3 separate regions of the Homo sapiens genome follow, and all the other regions are linked to region 3. Evidence: promoter capture Hi-C in human tissues and cell types (Jung and others, 2019). All regions are on one chromosome and are shown on one strand. The core of a region is centred on a gene start or on the middle of the fragment in contact, and the rest is flanking DNA. Distances in the headings are between cores, read along the strand shown.

Evidence for each region. The method cuts DNA at HindIII sites, captures the fragments that hold promoters and counts their contacts. A contact is called where the count stands out against the background at its distance.
Region 1: a contact is called between a fragment that was not itself captured here and the fragment with the promoter of ARMCX2 in region 3, in 2 of the 25 tissues and cell types used here (dorsolateral prefrontal cortex and hippocampus).
Region 2: the fragment with the promoter of ARMCX6 here is called in contact with the fragment with the promoter of ARMCX2 in region 3 in 1 of the 25 tissues and cell types used here (hippocampus).

What each region holds. Positions count from the first base shown.
Region 1 is chrX:101,699,676-101,702,556 of GRCh38, forward strand. No RefSeq gene overlaps it. Among named protein-coding and RNA genes, the nearest start is that of ARMCX2, 41 kb to the left of the region's middle. The HindIII fragment of the contact is 4,608 bases long and covers 1-2,881 here.
Region 2 is chrX:101,616,661-101,619,660 of GRCh38, forward strand. ARMCX6 (armadillo repeat containing X-linked 6) reads right to left here and starts at 1,340. Exons shown (of 3, transcript NM_019007.4): 1 at 1,225-1,340; 2 at 843-924; 3 at 1-106. The HindIII fragment of the contact is 6,377 bases long and covers 1-2,536 here.
Region 3 is chrX:101,658,162-101,661,120 of GRCh38, forward strand. ARMCX2 (armadillo repeat containing X-linked 2) reads right to left here and starts at 1,689. Exons shown (of 6, transcript NM_177949.4): 1 at 1,597-1,689; 2 at 1,258-1,340; 3 at 915-987; 4 at 300-364. The HindIII fragment of the contact is 6,606 bases long and covers 1-2,591 here.

The sequences.
Region 1 (2,881 bases), core at 123-2,622, 41 kb after region 3:
TTTTTTGAAAAGTTAAAATTGACAGACCTTTAGCCAGATTAACTAAGAAAAAAATAGATAAAATCCAAATAAATAAAGTCAGAGATGAAAAAGGAGACATTACAACTGGATACTGCAGAAATTCAAAGGATCATTAGTGGCTACTATGAGCAACAATATGCCAATAAATTGGAAAATCTAGAAGAAATGGACACATTCCTAGACATACACAATCTACCAAGATTGAAAGAGAAAGAAATTCAAAACTTGAACAGACCAATTTTAACAAGTAATGAGATTGAAGTCACAATAAAAAGTCTCGTAGTAAAGAAAAGCCCAGGACCCAGTGGCTTCACAGTGAATTTCTACCAAACATTTAAAGAAGAACTAATACCAATCCTATTCAAACTGTTTCAAAAAGTAGAAAAGGAGGGAATACCTCCAAACTCATTCTATGAGGCCAGTATTATGGTGATACCAAAAGCAGAAAAAGACACATCAAAAAAAGAAAAAAAAAGAAAACTTTAGGCCAATATCTCTGATGAATACTGATGCAAAAAAATCCTCAACAAAATACTAGCAAACTAAATTTAGCAATACATTAGAAATATCATTCATTATAACCAAGTGGGATTTATCCCTGGGATGCAAGCATGGTTAAATATATGCAAATCAATCAGTGTGATACATCATATCCACAGGATGAAGGGTAAAAACCATATGTTCATTTCTATTGATGATGAAAAAGCATTTGATAAATTTCAACATCCCTTCCTGAATAAAAAAAAAAACTGGGGATAGAAGAAACATACCTCAACATAATAAAAGCCATATATAACAGACCCATAGCTAGTATCATACTGAATGGGAAAAAATTGAAAGCCTTTTCTCTGAGATCTGGAACAAGGCAAGGATGCCCACTTTCTCCACTGTTACTCAACATAGTGCAGAAAGTCCTTGCTAGGGCAATCAGAGAAGAGAAAGAAATCAAGGGCATTCAAATTGGAAATGAAATGAAATTATCCTTGTTTGCAGATGATATGATATTATATTTAGGAAAACCTAAAGGTGCCACCAAAAACTATTAGAACTGATAAATTCAGTGAAGTTGCAGGATACAAAATCAACATATGAAAATCAGTAGTATTTCTATATGCCAATAGCAAATAATCTGCAAAAGAAATAAAATTAATTCCATTTATAATAGCCACACATACAGATAAATACCTAGGAATTAACATGACTAAAGAAGTGAAAGATCTCTACAATGAAAACTATAAAACACTGATGAAAGAAATTGAAGAGAACACAAAAAAATGAAAGATATTCCATGTTCATGGATTGGAAGAATCAATATTGTTAAAATGTCCATACTACCCAAACCAATCTCCAAATTCAATGCAATTTGTATCAAAATATCAATGGTACTCTTCACAGAAATAGAAAAAAAATCCTAAAATTTATATAGAGCCACAGAAGGTCCCAAATAGTCAAAGCTTTCCTAAGCAAAAAGAACAAAACTGGAGGAATTACATTACCTGCCTTCAAACTATACTGTAGAGCTACGGTAACCAAAACAACATGGTACTGGCATTGAAAGATACACATAGACCAATGGAACAGAATAGAGAACCCAGAACAAATCCACACACCTACATTGAACTCATTTTTGACAAAAAGTGCCAAGAACATACACTGGGGGAAAAGGCAGTCTCTTCAATAAATAGTACTGGGAAAACTGGATATCCATATGCAGAAGAATGAAACTGGACCTCTGTCTCTTGCTATATACAAAATCAAATCAAAATGGATTGAAGACTTAAATCTAAGACCTCAAAATATGAAACTACTACAAGAAAACAGGGAAACTCTCCAGGACATTAGTATGGGCAAAAACGTCTTGAGTAATATCACACAAGCACTGGCAACCAAAGCAAAAATGAACAAATGGGATCATATCAAATTAAAAAGCTTCTATACACCAGAGGAACCAGCCAACAAAGTAATGAGACAAGCCACAGAATGAGAGAAAATATTTGCAAACTACCCATCTGACAAAGGATTAATAACCAGAATACATAAGGAGCTCAAACAACTCTATAGGAAAAAAATCTAATAATCTGATCAAAAAATGGGTAAAAGACTTAAATAGACACTTCTCAAAAGAAACATATGAATGGCAAACAGGCATATGAAAAGGTGCTCAATGTCAGTGATCATCAGAGAAATGCAAATCAAAACTACAATGAGATAACATCACACCTCAGTTAAATGGCTAAAAGGCTTATATACAAAAGACAGACAATAACAAATGCTGACAAGGATGTGGAGGAAAGGGAATCCTCATACACTGTTGGTGGGGATGTAAATTAGTATAACCAATAGGGAGAACAGTTTGGAGGTTCCTCAAAAATCTAAAAATAGAGCTCCCATATGATCCAGTAATCCCATTGCTGGGTACATATCCAAAAGAAAGGAAGTTAGTATATTGAAGAGATATCTGCACTCCTGTGTTTGTTGCAGCACTGTTTACAATAGCTAACATTTTGGAAGCAACCTAAGTATCCATCAACAAATGAATGGATAAAGAAAGTGTGGTACATATACACAATGGAGTACTATTCAGCCATTAAAATTAATGAGATCCTGTCATTTGCAACAACATGAGTGGAACTAGAAATCATTATGTTAAGCAAAATAAACCAGGCACAGAAAGACAAACATCATGGCCGGGCACAGTGGCTAAACCAATCATTTATTATTATTTTTTAAAATCCAAGTAAATGACGCTGGGCATGGTGGCTCATGCTTGTAATCCCAACACTTTGGGAGGCCAAGGCGGGCAGATTGCTTGAGGTCAGGAGTTTGAGAACAGCCTGGCCAAGATGGTGAAACCTCGTAC
Region 2 (3,000 bases), core at 90-2,589, 42 kb before region 3:
CCTTGCTCCACCTGATTGAAGAGGTCTCTCAGGTCCAGGGTGAGTAAGGATGGAGGGTAGCAGTCTTCAGCTTCTTCCAGGCTCTTGTAGCTCTCTTGTGATGAATCTGTGGGTGAAACAGAGTATTAGGGCTCGGGACTATGTTTGGCTTTGTGCCTCACAGACAGGGTGGATTTCGAGTTGGTGATAAAGGCAGATTAACAGGATACAATTTCTTTGTTCTTTTCTTTTCTGTCTTCCTCTATCGACCTCAGGAGCCCCCATTTCTCTTCCTGGGTCCACAGGGAAGGGCAGGAGATGGGTCTCTGCTATGATAGCTAGGAGGGTGACAGTGTGAGTACCTCTCAGGTAGTCTCCTACACCAGACCTCCACCCCCAAAGATTAAGGGCAGTTTCTCTCATTAACCTCTACCAAAGTCAGATAAATTCCTTCGTTTTCCCTTGTCTTCTGTTGTCAGTGGTCCCTCCACGGTGATAGAGGATAGAGTCTGGCAGAAGGACAAATGCAAAGACAGGTAGGCGGCAATGGAGAAATGAAAGTGTAGTGGATGAACTGAGGACACAGGTCCCAATTTCTGTTTTTGTGAATTTTAGACACTTGAGTTTAAAATATTTCTCATACTCTACTGACTTTCCGGACGCAGGCCTCCTCCGCCCCACTTGTCGTCCGCCATTTCCCCAGCAAAGGCCGCCACACCCCTTTCCCTGCACTGAAATGGGAGTGGGTGTGGAGAAAGAAGGGGCCAGGAGAGGGCGACTCGGACCTGGCCCTCTCATATCCCAGCCCCCCTCCTCCGCCACCCCCACCCATGGTCCTGGGCTAATCCCACCTTCACACTGACCTGCAAGGTTCCAACCAAGGCAGTTTTCTCCTTCTCTCGCTGAAACTTGTGCCGAAACCTACAGGCCAACAGACCTACAAACCTGCAAACAGACAAGGGACCGAGGGGACGGAGTGCTTGGTGGACGGACCAGCACCCGGGACACTAGAACCTTTCTTTTCTCGGAGTCTCTGGAAACGCCATTCACTCCCCTCACCCCCACCCGAAACCCGCCACTTCTCTCTACTAAAATGAGCACGGGGTGGGGTGGGGGTGGGTAGCAGTATTTAGAAAGTAGGCGAGAAAGGGACCCAGCTGTGATCGGCCTGAACTCGGATCTGTGGCGTTCTTGGCCCTCTTCCACCCATACCTCCTCTCAAGCAGCGCCCACCCTCGCACCGACCTGCACGGTCCGAGCTAGTTTCCTTCTTTCTTCACACGCCTGCAGAGTAATAGGGGGCTGGTACCCAGACGGAGGCGACTAGCAGGACTTGTGCTCTAGGCGGCTCTTGGTCACGTGACGGCCACGTCACCAGTGCGCTCTGGCCCCCAATTTCCACTCCCACAAGCAGTGCGGCAGGCGCCAGCCTGCCTTGTATCTCCCCCTCAACCCCCACAGTGGGCCCTGTCACTTTTTTCCTCTGTAACAATACCAGAAACCAGAAGTGGCCCTGTCTTTCTGGTGTTTGAATTTATGTTTCTCTAATTCCAGGAAGGGGCAGCATCTTTAGGAAGGGGCAGCATCTTTTCCTGAGTCTACCCTTCATTTACACTTCTTGGGGAATTGTCTCATCCTTTCCTTGGCTCTGAAACTTCTGCAGCCCCTTTCTTAAATTTCTACACTTTTCCGTGTTCAGTCTCTACACCAACATTGGGTGAGGGGGCAGAAACGGAAGTCCAGGCAGTGGTGAGATTTTAATTAGTATTTTGATAACATTTAAGTTATATTTTGTCCTTTCTTTTTTATTGACTTGAACTACACTATTTTGTAATCGGAAAAAAACAATAAAGCTTTTCCCACTTGGAGAAGAAATAATTCAAATCTTTTTTTTTTTTTACAGATATATATATATATAACATAAGCAAGATTTCCCAGTTAATAGGAGGCCTCATTGATTTGATGAAGTTAGTTTGTATCAAGTTGAACATATTTTCTTCGGACTGCACAGGAAATAGCAGCTTTCAAACAACATATTAAAATGTAAAAACACACCCTTAGAAACAAAACCAGTTGTGCTTTCAACATGATTTATAAATTGATGGATAAATGAATCTATACCGAGAAGGTCAGTGTTCTAATTTTGACCATTTTAAGTAAGTGAACTATTGTCCCTTTCTTTCTCCTGGCTGAACTCATAGTATTAGGTGTCAGATGACTGAGATCTTCATAGAAGATTGCTGGGTGACTTTCACTCTGGCTTCAAAGGACAGATTTTATGCAGACCCCAACTTCAGATGAATCTTACATCTTCAGATGAACTTTACAGATTAGTGACTCCACAGATTAGCCTGCCTTTCATTCACAGGGCTTTATTTACAATCTATTCTGAAGTTTGTGGTGCAACCTATAAATCTTCCAGAAATTAGAGAATTTCCTGTTATCCTATTGATGAAAATGAGACTTGATAGAGGTAATTTTCTTTCCATCATGACACTGTTGGCGATCTCTCTGTTGTCTGCCATTCATGTATTTTATGCTACCCTAGCAGTGGTGAGTGTTCAGCATTTTCCAGTGGAGATGGTGGTGAGGGTCTGTGGGTGACTGGGAATCAGTGCAACACCCCTGATGTCTGTGTCATTTTTTCCCCTCACAAGTGGAAGGGCAATGCACAGGATCTCAAGCAGTTGCCAGAAAAAAAGAGGACTTTTCATTTCCTGCCTTCTATTACAACTTCATTGAGCCACCAGTACAAGCCCCTCAGAATAATCCCAAAACTCAGGGACCAAGTATGCAGAAGTTAGTCCTCATGCATCCACCTGTCCCTGCTGAGGAGTCATACTCTAAATATAGACACTCCAGGCAACCTCTTAGAACATTGAAATATGACACCCCAGAGGGAGGGGCTCCCCAGTGAGGGGCTCCTGTGTGGAGGAGGCCCTTTCAGGAGGCAAGCCAGGGAGTCCTAGTGCCTTGCTGGTGAATATTCAGAAGTCAATATGTCACAACTTTCTGGTCTTC
Region 3 (2,959 bases), core at 439-2,938:
GGCGTTTTTGAGCCATTGGTGGACGAATTCTGGTTCTTTTCCTGATTTGGGCCCCTGTGGGTCAAAGGTTTTCCCCCCTCAGGGATCCTCTTTTCCTCTTCAGCCTCTCCTCCCCCAAATATTAACTAAGGCAGATGCCACGCCCCTTTCTCTGCACCAAAAAGAAAGGGCCTGGGGCAAGGGTGTCTTTGAAATTAAAAGAGAGAAGATGCAGGAGGAGCCTCTGGTCCCATACTCTACTCTTGTCTCTGCCACACCCACACCAGGGGGCCCCAGACAATTCCAACCCCAGCACTGACCCTCCAAAGATTCAAGGCTGTTTCTCCTTACTTCAGTTCAGTTAGAGCTTCATCCTAAGGACAGACTGAAGAGCAGAAATATAGACTGTCGACGTTAGACAATGAAAGCCTGGTGGATGGATCAGCATCCAGGACAAGGGTCTCAGTAACTGCCTTTTCGTGTTTGCACATCAGAATGTCAAATGATTCTACCTCTCAATTCCTTCAACTCTTCTCACCCCACCCCTCCCACCTCAATCCTCCTCCTGCGCAGGCTCCCCAGGCACTCAATCCCTCCTTCCGCTTTGCCCCGCCCCCGTCCGCCATTTCTCCAGGACACACCGCCACACCCCTTCTCCTGCAACGAAGCGGGAGGGGAGCGGGGCGAGGGTGCAGCAAAAGCTGGATGGGACGCGGTATGGGGGACTCCTGCCAAACAATTCAGTGTTCCCCTCCCAGGATCACCCATCTTTCGCTCCCCAGCCCCTAGGCCTAGCGTTAGCCTGCAGAAGAGGGGCCTCAACGTCTGCCTTTTCGGGTTCAGGGTCGAGATTTTCCACGATTTCTCTGCTATGGGCTCTACCTCCCACTTCCCACAAATCCCCCCAACAACCGCCATTTCTCCCGCCTGCATACCCGAATTCCTTTTCCAGGACTGAAAAGACGGGGGGTGAACGGCTGTGTGGGCCGGAGGTGTCTGGAAAGCAGTCTGCGAGTTAACAAGGCGGTTTAATACCAGATTCTCTCAGGGTCCGCCCCCTCCCCCCCACCTCCCGTGAAGCCCAGACAGCGCCAAACCCGCCACCTCTCCAACAGCAGCTGGTACACCCATTTCCCAGCACTCCCAAATCACAGAGGGTCGGCTGGGGGATGGGAGGGTGCCGGGGCGGTGGTGGGGAAAGTCAGGGTGGGAGTGTGCCGCCCAGATTGTTACCAAATTGCATGCCCCACCCCCGCCTCCTGGTTACCCTTTCCCAACCTCCCTGCTGGCCTTCTATGCGCTGCCACGTTTATTTCTCTTCCCTCCTCCTCTCAAAACAGGACGGAATGTGGGGTGCGGGCCTGAATATTATAAACAAAACCAAAAAACACTGGCTGGAAAGGAAGTAAGCGGATTCTTCGTAAAGTCTATCAAAAGTCTTTTCGTTTCCCCCTCCCCCTTTCCCCACCGCCCACCAAAATGAGCCGCGTTTGAGCACCTCAGGTCTGGAAAGCCGGCCAGGAGTGGGGGAGACCGAGGCACCCGCGGCCTCCGACTCCCGCATCCCTAGATTACCCCTATTCAGGGGTCCCAGACTGTGCCCACCCTCACACCCACCTGCCCGAATCTGGGGGAATTTTCTCCTCCTCCTCCTCGCCTGGGTTAAACGCACGGCAGCGAGCTGCGCAATAGAGTTGGTACCCAGAGGAGGACGGAGAACGACGGTCAGGGCTTTAAGTACCTTTGCCCACGTCAGCTCCTGGTCACGTGAGGGCTGCATCGCCAGTAAGCTTGGGTCCCCAATTTCCACTCCCACCAAGAGTACGAGCCCCCTCCTTTACTTCCATTCCCATCTCACCCCACCACATCAGGTCCTGTCACTCATTTTTTTGTCTTTGTAGTCCTGGAGGCCTAAAGTAGCCCCTTCTCCCTGCTTTCACAATTTGCCTTTCTCTGGTTACCTGGGAGGGGCTGCATCTTCTCGGAGGGCTACTGAAAATTTTTACTTTTTTGTTGGGGAATTGTTTCATCCTTTCCTGGGCTACTGGACACTCTTCCATCTCTCCACCTCTAGTTCCTCAGCCCCTAGTCCCCAGGATTTTCCTTGCAGTTGACTCCCTGTTCCAGTATAGTTAAGGGGCAGAGTGTCAGAAAGGAGACAAGGAGTGGGAGTGGGGTCTGTACTTCTCAAATACTTCTGTTTTGTTTTCAAAACTATCATCATGCTTTATTTTTATAGTAAGAAAATTCAGTAAAACAAGAATTCAATGTGGGAAGTAGCAACAAAAAAAGGGTGGGCATGTTTTGTAAAGAAAAAAGGTTTCCTGCGTCCATTGGAAAGCACCATTAATTTTGGTTAATTTTTACCGAATAGAACATGAATTCTTTTGGTCACATAGGAAATAGTTTTTAAAATATGCTAAGGTATTTGAACATCTAAAATGGAATATTTCTCAATAAGATAAGCATATTTCCATGTGATCTGTAAATTGATCCACAGAGAGATGTTCAGTTCTTCAATCTTGTTTATTTTGGACAAATAATACGCTACTTTTTTCTCCTTCTGGGACAGCTTTTAAGTTGCATAAATAAATGATCCTGTCTTGTCCTGTTAGAGAAACACATTTATTTAATATTCCCAAACCATTGCTGACTGCTGTGTGTGAACCTCCTGTAATTTGATGGCTGTAACCATGACAGTTTTAAACACCTGTCTTCGGATTAGGTTCCAGTTAATGATTCAACTCTGGGCAAAAGGAAGAGCTGTGAGGCCAAGGAAACTGAGTGTGGTGGGTGCAGAGTGGTCAAATCCTCCCTGCCCTGTCAGGAGGAGGAGGGAGATGCTGTCTCTCTACTCCCTCCCATATGCCAGAGCCGCTCATCTCCTGCATTCAGGTACCTGGCTCAGTTGCTCACACCCAAAATATATCCAGACAAGTGACCAAGATGCAGACCTGGTTAAATGTCTTTGGCTCTTTCC